3 separate regions of the Homo sapiens genome follow, and all the other regions are linked to region 1. The links are contacts of gene promoters, found by promoter capture Hi-C in blood cells and fetal thymus (Javierre and others, 2016). All regions are on one chromosome and are shown on one strand. Each heading gives the region's core, a stretch centred on a gene start or on the middle of the fragment in contact. The rest is flanking DNA. Distances are from core to core; before and after follow the strand shown. Region 1 holds the start of RNF138 (ring finger protein 138). Region 2 overlaps TRAPPC8 (trafficking protein particle complex subunit 8). Region 3 overlaps TRAPPC8 (trafficking protein particle complex subunit 8).

Region 1 (4,743 bases), core at 797-3,296:
AACATTCTTTTGTTAAGTTTGAAATGGAGCCTGGGAATTGGTATGTTTACTTAAAAAGTTCCCCGGGGACTCTGATCATCAGTCAGGTCTGTCAGAAGGGCTATACACCTTCTCAACAAGGGCTCTTTCCAACCCTTACTCACACCCTAGCTGTCCATAAAATTTTATCAAAGTTCTTGTAAATATGCCTGCCAATCAAACGCATGCGTTATCTCACCCAACCCCTTTGTGTTCTCCCCCACCCTGGGTAGCATCTCAATTTCGGCTCATTCCTCATAACAGAAGTCTTCCTTTCTCCTCTCCACCCTTGTATTAATCAAGTAATAAGTAAGCAGAAAGGTAAAACAAAGGGGAACGCTCATTTCAATGCCCGAAAATCCTGTCAGTTTTAAGAGACCAGAGAAGAAAACTCATTCTAGATCCCTCTAACACATAGTGGACTGGAAACGAAACAAAACGCTCTCGAGGGTGTTCTGTGAAGCAGGGTTGAGGGGAAGTTACAGAAGAGCTCTTGGACCGAGGGGACGGACCAAGGTTCTGAAAGAGGAAACTTGAAAGCAGGGCAGGTCGCGGGGCGAGCGGGCCCGCGCGAGCACCGCCGGCCGCTTTTGACACTCGACACCCCAGCCTTCACCCGGGTTGCTAAGAAACAAAAAGGCTCCAAGATCCCTGCAATTCCTCCCGGGCCTGGCGGAGACGACAGGGGCCTCCGGGGCCTGAAGACGCCGCAGGGAACGGCCTGGCCACTGCCCCGGGGGCGCGAAAGCCAGGGAGAGCGGGAGAGCGGGAGAGCGGGAGAGCGGGAGAGCGGGAGCTTGGGCTGAGGGGGCTGGACGCGGGGAGCGGGCCCCGAGGCTGAGGAAAAGGCCGCCCCGGGACTCTGAGGGGCGGGGAACGGGACCTCGCGGGGCAGCGACGCTCGGGCAGGCCGCGGCGGGCTCGGTTCCCGCCAGGCGGCAGCCCGGGGTCCCGGGCCGGAGGCCGGGCCTAAGCGACAACCCGGCTCCGCGAGGGGGAGGGGGCGTCTACTCACACGTGCTGACAGGCCGTGGTCCGCACGGGCGTTTTGAGCACCTCCTGACAGACGGGGCAGTAGAAATCATCTTCGGTGTAGGACGTGGCCGCAGAGAGGTCCTCGGCCATGGCGGGGGATGGGGAAACAAGGCGATGGCGACAGCGGCAGCGGCCGAGGTGACGGTGGCGGCCCGGGGCCCGACTCCCTACATGAACCCGGAGGGGGGAGGGGGATCGCATCAGGATACAGCGCGCGCCAGGAAGGGGGCGGGGCCCTGGGTAGGGCGGGGCCGAACGCAGAGACGCTACTGCCGCACGCGCCGGGCAAGAGGCGACCCCTCCCACGGCTCCTCCCACAGGGGGCTGGATGGGGGACGGTGCTTGGCGGGAGGCTGGGCTCGCAGCATGCCGTGGGCCCGCCCCGCTCGCCCCTCACCCCGCCCCAGGACGCGGCCTCACGCTCTAGGCCACGCCCTCACCGGGCTCCAGGCGCGGGCTCGCGCCCCGCCCTCAGCCCCCGTCTTCGCCCAAGGCCTCCCTTTTCACTGCTTTTCCGCCTCTACTCACCCCGACCCCGAGCCCCGAGTGCCCAGCCCGTGTCCGCGGCTTCCTCCCCGCCCCGCTTCCCGGCACCCCGGCCCCTCCACGCTTCCGCCGGGGAGACTCTCACCTAGGAGCCCCGAAGCGGCGTTGTGGACGGAGCTGCTTTTCCTTCACGTGTTCGTAGAGACCCGGCCCAGCGCTTTCCTCGAGCTTCCTGTCCGGCCGCCGCTATCTTCGCAGCCGAGGCCCCGGGGCAAATGGAGGGCGGCGTGCGCTGTGCTTATCGGCCCCTAACGGGGCCGGAGCCGAGGCTCATGGTGCAGGGAGATTCGCCCGCCGCCGCCAGCAGCTCTGTCTTGGCATTGCGCTGCCTACAGCCTACCCGGCCGTCACCGAACGCGGGAGCGCCGGGGATCTGGGCGGAGGAGCCAGGAGAGGCGGGGAGGCACGGGGTGTGAAGTGCGGCCTGTATAGCAACCGGCGCACGGCGCCTTCCGCGGGTTGTGACGTAAGCAGCTGGGCGCCCGCGGTGACACCTGCGCCTCCCCGCCCCGCCTCGCTAGGCCCGGGACCCCAGTTACCTCTCCTGTCAAATACATTGGGCCTTTCAGGAAGTTTTCGTCAATGTTCAAGATTTAGTCTTTACTATTTGCCCTACCAGAATGTTTTGATCTTGTCAAGATGTGTTATAAACAAATATTTGTTACGGGATTTTAATCCTTTGGGGGCAGGATTAAAGTTTCCTTGAGAGGATGTCCACTTTCTCCTTTAACAGCATGACCGATGCTTAAATACGGTCGCAGATGCAGTCTTCTACTACACCTTTGGGTTGATTTTTGATTTTTTCTTTTTTTTTTTAGCTTTGAAGAGAAATGCCGTAGAAGCATGGACGTGGCTTTTCACCAAGGTTATTCACTAATTTAAGTGTTTTTTTTAATTTTATTTTATTTTATTTTATTTTTTGAGACAGGTACTCACTCTGTCTCCCAGGCCGGAGTGCAATTATCTGTACAATTGATAATCTATAAGATGGTCCAACCTGCGTAACAGAGTGAGATTCCGTCTCAAAAAAAAAAAAAAAAAAGAAAGAAAAAAGGCCGGGCGCGGTGGCTCACACCTGTAATCCCAGCCCTTTGGTAAGCGAAGGCGGTTGGATCACTTGAGGTCAGGAGTTCAAGACCAGCCTGGCCAACGTGATGAAATCCCATCTCTACTAAAAATACAAAAATTAACCGGACATGGTGGTGGGAGCCTGTAATCCCAGGTACTCGGGAGGCTGAGGCACGAGAATCGCTTGTACCCGGGAGGCAGAGGTTGCAGTGAGCCGCGATCGCGCCGCTGCACTCCAGCCCTGGCGACAGAGTGAGACTCTCAAAAAAAAAGAAGAACAAAAAAAGGATAAATCGATAAGATGGGATCCACAATGACGTGAAAGAAGCTAAGGAAAATCTGGAACATTATACAGCATCTACAATTAGCTTCAGAGAAAAGAAAGGTTTTATTACCATCCTTTGTTAAAACCCTCCCCCATGGTCTAAATGAATAAACAGAAGCCATTTAAGGGACTATTTAAATCAATTCTGCCATTTATTGTCTATGTTGACATTGGCATTGTTAGGTGTTATGCAGATGTCATGAACTTTGCTCTCAACCTGTTTACATTATTACATATCTATCAGAATGAGAGAGAAAAAATGGTATTTGCCAAAGTATTAAATTTTGCATTAAACGATGGCTATAATGAGGATAGGAAATGGAATGATTAGAAATATATAGAGTTAACAGAAAACTTTATGGAGGAAATGGGTTTTAATGTACATCTCAAAAGCATTGATTCCTAGAATAATAATAATTTGTCCAATGAATAGCTAATTCCCTCTACCAAACTATATTTTGTATTTTTGTTGCTTTTCCTCCTTAGCAGCAAGCGCAGTGGAAGCAAGACAAGAAAGCTAATACTAGCTTCAGATTTCCTGGAAGGAGGAAGAGCACGTGACGAGAGGGGCAGCTAATAGCAGTAGTTCAGGTGCTTTTCACATTCACTTATAAAATGGTTCTTTGAGTTCAAATTTTTAACAGCCCAGAGAAGAAAACTCACTTTTTTTCTTTTTTCTTTTGAGACAGAATCTCACTCTGTCACCCAGGCTGGGGTGCAGTGGAATGATCTCAGCTCACTTCAACCTGCGCCTTCCAGGTTGAAGCAACTCTCCTGCCTCAGCCTCCCAAGTAGCTGAGATTACAGGCATGCACCACCATGCCAAACTAATTTTTGCATTTTTAGTAGAGACAGGGTTTTGCCATGTTGGCCAGGCTAGTCTCGAACTCCTGGCCTCCAGCGATCCGCCCACCTTGGCCTCCCAAAGTGCTGGAATTACAGGCCTGAGCCACTGTGCCTGGCCTACATTTTACTTTTTTGATAATTCCACTCATTTCATTCATTCTGACCATTTAGGAAGTAAGGTGTATTTTCTGTATAATAGTGTTTCCCATTATTCATTGGGAATATCTAACCATAACATTAATTTTGTGACCCTAATTTTATTTGCTTCATTCTTTCTCTGCAACGGCAGCTTTACTTATGTCTAATCCAAACATATTTGTATCACTCCCCCATATATTCTAATAAGTCATTCGGTATACACGTAAGCATATAGCTGGCAATATGTGGAAATCCAGCAAAAACTTGGACATAAGAAAAATATAGATACCCTTGGAAAGTTAAGCTTAAAAAAATAAGTTGCAATTACCAATGACACAATCTTCTTTCTTGGCAACATTTCTGGTGAAAAGCTACTTGATATTTTTATAAGAATGTCATAGATTTACTCAAAATACATTCAGCTGCGTAAATAAAATGTCCTCAGCCTTTGGTCATTAGAAGGGAAAACCCTAGATGTAGACCGATTTGGTAAACTGTGCTGCAATAATTTAAACAGTTCCTTTAAGTTTGGGTTAAACCAGTCAGTCCCTCTCAGTGGGCTTCCCTCAGAATGGCATTTGGGAGAAGGGAAGGGAGGATGATGGGTAGCTGACATGAACTCAAGGCACTATAGGGGAATCTGGCTCCTGAAATCTGCAAGTTCTCTTTTGCATTTTTGCCGGATTTTCTTTAGCCAGACTAATTTTCTCTGCTCCTTGAGATGTAATGTGTCCTGGGTGTTCTCTTGCTGAAACTTGCTGATGAAG
Region 2 (4,743 bases), core at 622-3,121, 210 kb after region 1:
CAGGATGATATTAGTTAAGGAGGAATCTTTCTTCCTTAAAAAAAAAAAAATATATATATATATATATATATATATATATATTTTTTTTTTCAATAGTTTCAGTAAAATTGGTACCAGCTCTTCTTTGTGCATATGGTAGAATTTGGCTTTGAATCCAGCTATCTTGGGCTTCATTTGGTTGTTTATTTATTTTTTTTTTTAATTACTGATGGAATTTTGTAACTACTTAATGACCTATTCAAGATTTGAGTTTCTTCCTTGTTCAGTCTTGGGAGATTGTATGATTCTGGGAATTAACCCATTTCCTCTAGGTTTTCTAGTTTGTGTGCATAGAGGTTCATAGTATTCTCTGAGGACCTTTTGTATTTCTGTGGTATCAGTTGTGATGTCACCTTTGTCATATCTGATTGTGCTTATTAAAATCATCTCTTCTTTTTCTTGCTTAATCTTGCCTAGTAGTCTCATCAATTTTGTTTGTGTTTTCAAATAACTTTATTTTGTTGATTCTTTGTATGATTTCTTTGGTCTCAATTTCATTTAAAGAATAAAGATCTGCTCTGATCTTTATTTCTTTTCTTTTGCCAGCTTGGGCTTGGTTTGTTCTTGTTTCTGTTTCCTCTAGATGTGACATTATTAATTTGAGATCTGTCTTTTTGATATAAGCATTTAGTGCTGTAAACTTTCCTCTTAACACTGCTTTTGCTGTATCCAAGAGGTATTGATATGTTGTGTTTCTGTGTTCATTTGTTTCAAAATTTTTTTAAATTTCTGCCTTAATTTCATTGTTTACCCTAAAGTCATTCAATACCAAGTTGCTTAGTTTCCATGTACTCGTATGGTTTTGAGCGTTCCTCCTGGTATTGATTTCTAATTTTATTCCACTGTGGTCTGAGAAGATCCTTGATATGATTTTGACTTTTTAAAATTTTTTGAGACTTGCTTTGTGACCCAGTATATGGTCAACTTCAGAGAATGTTCCATGCACAGATAAGAAAAATGTATATCCTGTAGTTGTCAGTTGGAATCTTCTGTAGACGTCTATTAGGTCCATTTGGTCAAAAGTCCGATTTAATTCCAGAGTTTCTTTGTTAGTTTTCTTCCTCGATGATCTGTCTAGTGTTGTCAGTGGGGTGTTGAAGTCCCCCAGTATTACTGTATGGCTGCTTGTCTTGTCTTCAGTCTAGTAGTATTTGTTTTATAAATTTGGATGCTCTGGTATTGAGTGTGTATATGTTTAGGCTAGTTAAATCTTCTTGTTGAATTGAACTCTTTATCATTATATAATTCCCTTCTTTGTCTTTTTTTTTATGTTGTTGGTTTAAAGTCCATTTTATTTGATAACAAGAATAACAACCCCTGCTCTTTTTTGTTTTCCATTTGCGTGATTGATCTTTCTCCACCCCTTGACTTTGAGCCTGTGGATCTCGTTACACAGAAGATAGGTCTCTTGTAGATAGCATATGCTTGGATCTTGTCTTTTGAGTAGAACAATTAAGCTATTTTTGTTCAAAGTTAATATTGATAAGTGAGGTTTTGTATTTGTCATAATGTTGTTAGTTGCTTTGTAGTCCCAATTGTATAACTGCCTTATAGGATCTTTGAACTTTGTACTTACGTGTATCTTTATGGTTAGCAGGTATCATCCTTTTGTTTCCGTGTTTAGAACTCCTTTGAGCATTTCTTGTAGAGCTGGTCGGGTGGTGACAAATTTCTTTAGCATTTTCTTGTCTGAGAAATACTATTTTTTCCTTCAATTATGAAGCTTAGTTTGGCAGGCTGTAAAATTCTTGGCTAGTAGTTTTTTTGTTTTTGTTTTTATTTGTCATTAAAAAGGGTAAAAACAGGCCCCAAATCTCTTTTTGTTGGTAAGGTTTCTTCTGAGAAGTCTGTTGTTAGTCTGATAATATTTACTTTATAGATTATTTGATCCTTTTTGGGATGGGGTGCACCAGTTGCTCATCCTGAGCAGACAGAAGCTTCCTTATCACGCCCCGGTCAGAGGGCTCACAACCATCAGTTCATGTAGACTTTGTCCATTAGGCTCTGACCAGAGTACACTTCCACCAAAACGGGCAGCTGCCACCAAAATGGGCTCAGGGCGGAACTTCTTCCTCTAGTACAGAGTAAACAGCTTTGCAGCTTGTCCACCTTCTGTTGCCCGGATGCTTCTCTGTAGGGAGGGGGAATTGGGCCTTGCCCTTCCTGCAAGCCCAGTTGGCATGGGGTCACTTTTTTTTTTTTTTTTTTTGAGACAGAGTTTTGCACTTGTTACCCAGGCTGGAGTGCAATGGTGCGATCTCGGCTCACTGCAATCTCTGCCTCCTGGATTCAAGCGATTCTCCTGCCTCAGCCTCCCGAGTAGCTGGGATTACAGGCACGCGCCACCACGCCTGGCTAATTTTGTATTTTTAGTAGAGACGGGGTTTCACCATGTTGGTCAGGCTGGTTTCAAACTCTCAACCTCAGGTGATCCACCCGCCTTGGCCTCCCAAAGTGCCTGGGATTATAGGCGTGAGCCACCGTGCCTGGCCATGGGCTCACTTTTTTTTTTTTTTTTTTTTGAGACGGAGTCTCCCTGTTGCCCAGGCTGGAATGCAGTGGCGCGATCTTGGCTCACTGCAGGCTCCGCCCCCCGGGGTTCATGCCATTCTCTTGCCTCAGCCTCCCGAGTAGGTGGGACTACAGGCGCCCGCCACCTCACCCCGGTAATGTTTTGTATTTTTAGTAGAGACGGGGTTTCACCGTGTTAGCCAGGATGGTCTCGATCTCCTGACCTTGTGATCTGCCTGCCTCGGCCTCCCAAAGTGCTGGGATTACAGGTGTGAGCCACCGCGCCCGGCCAGGCTCACTTTTAGCTGTGATGGAGCCACCACAAAAAGCATGAAAAGTGCTTTCCCCAAGGACACGTCTGCCAGCTCCCAGCAGGGAGAACCTCTCCTGTGTTCACAACAGTGGATGGGGTGGGCGGGAAATGATCCCCTCTTCATGTTCATTTCCAGCCGCTGGGGCTGCCCACTTCAGCGATTGTTGCTTGCTTGCATTACCTTTGTCTCAAGGTGGGGCTTTGGCAGGCTACTGTCCCCCCTTCCCCTAGGGGCAGCCTAAATTAACGGTTACATCTCCATGGGTCTCACACCTTCTCTGGGGACCCACTGGTCTCCTAAACTTGCTAATGTCACAGCAGTTGTGAATATGTTAGGGATCTGGTGGTGCGGTGGTGACTCAAGAGCAGAGATTTCCTGGGCAGGGCAGTGGTATCTCCTGTCTCAGTTCAGGCCTGAAAGGAGGGCGGGCATGCCTGTGTGAGCTGGCCACCCACATCCTTGTCCCTGGGACGTTCTCAAACTGCCACTGTTAGTGTTGTCCTGCATCATGAGGGCAGAGGGACTCCCCATCAGTTGGATGGTGAACAGATGGTCAGAGGGGTGAGGGCAGCAGAGAAGTACTCCCACTTACCCTTTCCATGGGGTTTTGTGTTCCTCAGCACTCGATCCCTGCCAAACTCTTGTTGTTTTTCTTTCCTGCACTCTAGTTTCTTTCCATGGGTTCTTCATCATATCCTGGCTGTCTTTTCTCAGTTTTCTGTTTGGATAATTAGTTACTTTGATCTTTCTGAGGAGAACTGGCATCTGAGGATCTGAGGTCCCTAGTAAGTGATCTTTTTTTTTTTTTTTTTTTTTTTGAGATGGAGTCTCGCAGTGTAGCCCAGGCTGGAGTGCAGTGGCACAATCTTGGCTTACTGTAAGCTCCGCCTCCTAGGTTTATGCCATTCTCTTGCCTCAGCCTCCTGAGTAGCTGGGACTTCAGGCGCCCGCCACCATGCCCGGCTAATTTTTTGTATTTTTAGTAGAGACAGTGTTTCACCATGATAGCCAGGATGGTCTCAATCTCCTGACCTCATGATCTGCCCGCCTCAGCCTTCCAAAGTGCTGGGATTACAGGCGTGAGCCACCCCTCCCGGCTGTAAGCGATCTTGAAGAAAATACTCTCCTTTTAAAAAAATTGATACATAATAAACATACATAGTTTGGGGTATAATACGTGATAATTTCATACATTCATATAATTTATAAAGATCAAGTCAGTGAACTTGGGATATCCATCACCTTAGAACCATTCAAATTCTCTATTTTGAAATGTAGAGTAGATGGTTGTAAACTATAGTCACCCTGCTGATCTGTCTAACGCTAGGTCTTATTTCTTCTATCAAACCATGTATTTGTACCCATTAATCAACTTCATTCTCTATCACCCACTCTCCCTGGCCTTTGGTAACCACCAGTCCACTCTCTATTTTCATGAAATCCACTGTTTTAGCTCCCACATATGAGTGAGAACATGCAGGATCTGTCTTTCTGTGTACCTCTTTTGATTTTTTACATTGATGATGTTTATTGCCACAAATATTGCATTCTTATTGCAATACTTGTAAGATTTTGGCATTCCTTGCAATTTTCCATTTTGAACACACATCTTGTATATCATTCTGGTATATTATTAATCTCTTGCTCTTCTTAAGTCCTGCAGTAAATGCACTGAATACCAGGAAGTATGCCCTGACACTTGCCAACAGCACCTTGAAAAGGAGGCTGTGGTAGCACCTGATGCTGGCAGAGAACCCCGTCATGTCTTGCCCAGGCAGTGTTTACTGTGCTGCTGTCCTAGCCCACTGCTTTATTTGAACCGTGTGAGGCATAACCTTTCAGTGGTCACAACACTGGCCAGTGAGTTCTGGCAGGCAGG
Region 3 (4,743 bases), core at 1,588-4,087, 170 kb after region 1:
AGAAAAATAAATTTATCAAAATGATATGTGTACATAGACAAAATGATAAAAAGACTTAAAGGAAAAAACAACAGTGATCTGTACCTTGCCCCACCAATTTCTGTAGTCTTTTCCTCGGGTATTGATTATGTGCTTCTAAGTAATATTTTTATATGGCTGTCTATGGCGTAATAAGTTTTAAATTTAAATAAGTTTTATTTATTGACTTCTCATTATCATTGATAAGGATTTGGCTTAATTACTGTCTATCCTTTCCACTCCATCTCATAGTTTTTGGTTAATATTCACTGCTTATAATATGACTAAATGTCATTCACTTCTTCACTGCTTAGCCAATTATTGGGCTTTCTGATACAGTATTTTGTGTTTTCAGGAGTTAGTAATTGTCTTTTTAAAAACATCTTGTGGTGGCTCACGCCTGTAATCCCAGCACTTTGGGAGGCTGAATCACCTGAGGTCAGGAGTTCAAGACCAGCCTGACTAAAATGGTGAAACCCTGTTTCTACTAAAAATACAGAAAATCAGCTGGGCGTGGTGGCACACTCCTGTAATCCCAGCTGCTTGAGGCGGAGGTTGCAGTAAGCCGAGATCCCACCGTTGCACTCCAGCTTGGACAACAAGAGCGAAACTCTGTCTCAAAAAAAAAAAAACCAAAACAAAACATCTTGCTCAGTTCTTTGTGTCTGTTGCTAGTTTCTCAGACTTCTTCAACTGTATTTTCTACTCGAGAGATTAATTTGTCAAATAACCCATTTATCAATGGCTCCTTCAAGAAATCTCTATTGTTACTGCATATATTCTCATTAAGGATGATATTCCTATGTGGTAAAAATTGGTCCTTGGGGGACAAAAAAATCTTAGCTATTACAGTGGTCTGTGGCTCTCCAAAGGGTCTCCATGCATAAATAGATACACAATACAATTGTGGTGTTATTTTAAAAAATACTTTAATCGGGGGAAAGGATTGATTAGAAAAAAGCTGTAAAACACAGAGAATATAATGAAATAAAAGCTGGGAAATGGTGTTCAATTTTATGTCGGACTGGTTGCTGTCCGAGGCCCACTCCACAGCTGTCATCCTGAGGATTTCCTTCCCTTCACTTCTCTGTAGTATTTCATTTATATATATTTTGTGTGTATTTCCTTAGTATGGTGAAGGACATCTCTAGTAGCTTCCTGAGAAAGGGTGCATGGAAAATAAAATTTTTGAGGAATGAATGTTGGAAAATGTTCTTATTTTATATACTTGATTGATGGTTTGACTGTGTACATTGTTAGTTATAAATCATTTCCCTCAGAATTGATCCACTTTCTTTTAGCTTCAAGCATTGCTCTTAAAAAAGCTAGAAGCCATTATATGTATTACCCCCAGCCCTCCAGCTGTTAGAAGTTTTTGAAGGTCTTCATCCCTGCTATTTTGAAATTTCACGTTGGGGTTTATAACTCCTTTTTCACTTATTTTACTGAGTAGCTTCTTTTGACAGTCTGGTTATGCACTTTTTAGCCCTGAGAAACTGTCTTGTATTCTTTCTTTGTTAATTTCTCCCTTATTGTTCTCTCTGTTCTTTCTGAAACTACTGTTAGTTGGATGTAGAACTTCCTGAGTTGATCCTCTAATGTTCTTTTTTTCTAAAATTGTCTATCTCTGTCTTTTTATTTTTCTGGGTGTGAATATCCTTGACTTTATCTTCTGATCCTTCTATTGAAGTTTTAATGTTTGGTGTCTTTTTGGGGTTTTTTTGGAGCTATTTTCTTCTCTAGATTTTCCTTTATTGTGACATGCTATTAAGGTTTTATGTTATAGTGTCTTAACTCTGAAGATAGTAATAAATTGTTGTTGGCTGTTTTTTTAAGTTTTCTTCTATCCTGTGCCTTTTTTTTTCATTCGTATTATTTTTATTTGTTTTGATTTTTTTCATGTTGGACACTTACCTCAAATCTTTGGTTAGACCAGGCATTATTTTCTATTTCAAATTGAGGCATTAAAACCCTGACTGAGTATAAGAAAGCTTATCAGTTAGTAGACTTCTTTATTGGGTGGTAAGGCTAAGAATAGGTTTAAGGGTTGCCCAATTTTTATTACTTATAGTTTTTTTCTTTGAGGCCATTTAGTTTATCCAGAGAAGGATTCTGAAATCTGCTCTCTGGCTGTGTCCTGGGCCTTTTTTTTCTATTAAAGTGGTTTGGCAGATCATTTATAGGAACATAGTTATGATTTGGTTGTGGGAAATTGTTTTATCTAATTATATTACTTGCATTCTCAGATCCCTGCCAACATCTCCTCATACGGGAGGATTGATTGCTATTTGCATTTAAAAGCAGGTGGAGGCAATTACTATAGCTTAACTCTTCAGGCGGATTTTTTTTTTTTTTTTTTTTTTTTTGAGACGGAGTTTCGCTGTTGTTGCCCAGGCTGGAGTGCAGTGGTGCGATCTTGGCTCACTGCAACCTCCACGTCCCGGGTTCAAGCGATTCTCCTGCTTCAGGCAGATTTAAAAAAATTAGTATTATTAGTTGTATATTTAGTGGAGACAGAGTTTCATGATGTTGGCCAGGCTGGTCTTGAACTCCTGGACTCAAGTGATCCACCTGCCTTGGCCTCCCAAAGTGCTGGGATTACAGGTGTGAGCCACCACTCCTGGCCATTTTTTTTTTTTTTTCGGTGGGGAGGGATGGAGTCTTGCTCTTTCGCCCAGGCTGGAGTGCACTAGCGCGATCTTGGCTCACTGCAACCTCTGCCTCCTAGTTCAAGCAGTTCTCCCTACCTCAGCCTCCCAAGTAGCTAGGATTACAGGCGCCCACCACGACGCCCAACTAATTTTTGTATTTTTTTTTTTGAGACGGATTCTTGCTCTTGTTGCCCAGGCTGGAGTGCAATGGCGCGACCTCGGCTCACTGCAACCTCTGCCTCCCAAGTTCAAGCAATTCTCCTGCCTCAGCCTCCCAAGTAGCTGGGATTACAGGCACCCGCCACCACGCCTGGCTAATTTTTTGTATTTTTAGTAGAGATGAGGTTTCACCACGTTGGCCAGGCTGGTCTCAAACTCCTGACATCAGGTGATCCACCCACCTCAGCCTCCTAAAGTGCTGGGATTATAGGCATGAGCCACCACGCCTGGCTAATTTTTGTATTTTTTTAGTAGAGGCAGAGTTTTGCCATGTTGGCCAGGCTTGTCTTGAACTCCTGACCTCAGGTGATCCTCCTGCCTTGGCCTCCCAAAGTGCTGGGATTACAGGCATGAGCCACCACACCCGGCCTTATTATTTTTAGAACTAGAGATAGGGTCTCACTAAGTTGCCCAGAGTGGTCTCGAACTCCTGGGCTTAAGTAGGATTAAACTACACACCAGAAGAAAACAGTTTTTTTTTTTTTTAGCTTCTTTCCCTTTTACTGAAAGGCACCTCCTTTCAGCTTTATTTTTATGTTGGCCATGAAGACTGAGAATGAGATACGATGAAGTACTACGTTAATTTTAGTAAAATTTCATTAAACAGAATAATACTCTTTGGAGATCATAGAAAAGTGATTTTATCCATTTTAATAAGGTATTAATTCTTATATATTCAGATGTATGCTTCTAATTTTCACCATTAATGTGAGTCAGCATACTTTTCATTCATTCTGTTAAAGAAATAGATGTTAGATATTTACCTCATAAGCTTAACAGTGCCGTGTTTTCTTCAGATCGGTCATTTAAAGCTGCTATTCCTTGGTACAGTAATTGGAAAGACACATTGATGGAGTTGAAAGTCTGTTATATACAGGGATTTCTTGTGATGGTTTCAGTTTTCTAGATTTTTCTCACCTACTTCGTTTCTGTTGTCTTTTTTTCCCCACTTAGGTACTGTTTTGTATTTTTCCCAATTGACATGTCTAATTTTTCTAAAATGAGGAAGGTCTAATGTATCTATTTTTTTCAACTTTTGTTATCTATTTTATCATCCATTATCCTGTTTACTCTTACAGCATTATGTGTTAAATCCAAGCATAGTCTTTGAATGGTATATTTTGGGCTGCATCTTATTTTAAAAGGAAGGAAGACCATATTACCCTTCCTTACCAGGTAAAACAGTACATTCTGCATGTTTTTGTTTTGTTTTGTTTTGAGGCAGGGTCTCATTATGTCACCCATGCTGGAGTTCAGTGGCTCTCTCTTGGCTTACTGCAACCTCTGCCTCCTGGGCTCAAGCGATCCTCCTACCTCAGCCTCCCGAGTAGCGGGGACTACAGGTGTGGGCTACCATGCCCGGTTAATTTTGCATTTTTTGTAGAGATGAGGTTTTCTCATGTTGCCCAGGCTGGTCTCGAACTCCTGGGCTCAAGTGATCAGCCTGCCTCGGCCTCCCAAAGTGCTGGGATTACAGGCGTGAGCCACTGAACATGGCCAGAAAACTTTAGTAGGAAAACATGGTTGCTATTTCAATTCCAAAGAAAGAACATGTAGAGATGGAAAGGGATATGAGGAAAATAGTGATTTTTATCCCAAGATAAGTCCAAGAAAATTTTTTGTTTTTTGTTTGTTCGTTTTGAGACAGGGTCTTGCTCTGTCGCTGCCCAGGCTGGAGTGCAGTGGCACCATCTTGGCTCACTGCAGCTTTGACCTCCTGGGTTCAAGCGATCTTCCCACCTCAGCCTCTCGAGTAGCCAGCGCTACAGCCTCATGTCCCACTCCCGACTAATTTTTGTACTTTTTGTAGAGACAGGGTTTGCTATGTTTCCCAGGCTGGTCTCCAACTCCTGGG

The links. Contacts are between HindIII fragments. The CHiCAGO score rates a contact against its expected background, and 5 or more counts as called.
Region 2: a contact is called between a fragment that was not itself captured here and the fragment with the promoter of RNF138 in region 1, in 12 of 17 cell types (total CD8 T cells, total CD4 T cells, naive CD8 T cells and 9 more). The highest score is 13.5, in total CD8 T cells.
Region 3: a contact is called between a fragment that was not itself captured here and the fragment with the promoter of RNF138 in region 1, in 16 of 17 cell types (total CD4 T cells, total CD8 T cells, non-activated CD4 T cells and 13 more). The highest score is 19.6, in total CD4 T cells.

What each region holds. Positions count from the first base shown.
Region 1 is chr18:32,089,177-32,093,919 of GRCh38, reverse strand. RNF138 (ring finger protein 138) reads right to left here and starts at 2,046. Exons shown (of 8, transcript NM_016271.5): 1 at 1,685-2,046; 2 at 1,034-1,220. The coding sequence starts at 1,143. LOC124904278 (a long non-coding RNA gene) reads left to right here and starts at 1,975. Exons shown (of 2, transcript XR_007066327.1): 1 at 1,975-2,065; 2 at 2,418-2,645. It also overlaps a transcript of RNF125 not described here. RefSeq lists a silencer at 1,208-1,627 and an enhancer at 2,298-2,347. The HindIII fragment of the contact is 10,157 bases long and covers 1-4,282 here.
Region 2 is chr18:31,875,429-31,880,171 of GRCh38, reverse strand. The region is part of intron 12 of TRAPPC8 (trafficking protein particle complex subunit 8); the gene reads left to right. Among named protein-coding and RNA genes, the nearest start is that of TRAPPC8, 65 kb to the left of the region's middle. The HindIII fragment of the contact is 214 bases long and covers 1,765-1,978 here.
Region 3 is chr18:31,922,380-31,927,122 of GRCh38, reverse strand. All of the region lies in intron 2 of TRAPPC8 (trafficking protein particle complex subunit 8), which reads left to right. Among named protein-coding and RNA genes, the nearest start is that of TRAPPC8, 18 kb to the left of the region's middle. The HindIII fragment of the contact is 1,651 bases long and covers 2,012-3,662 here.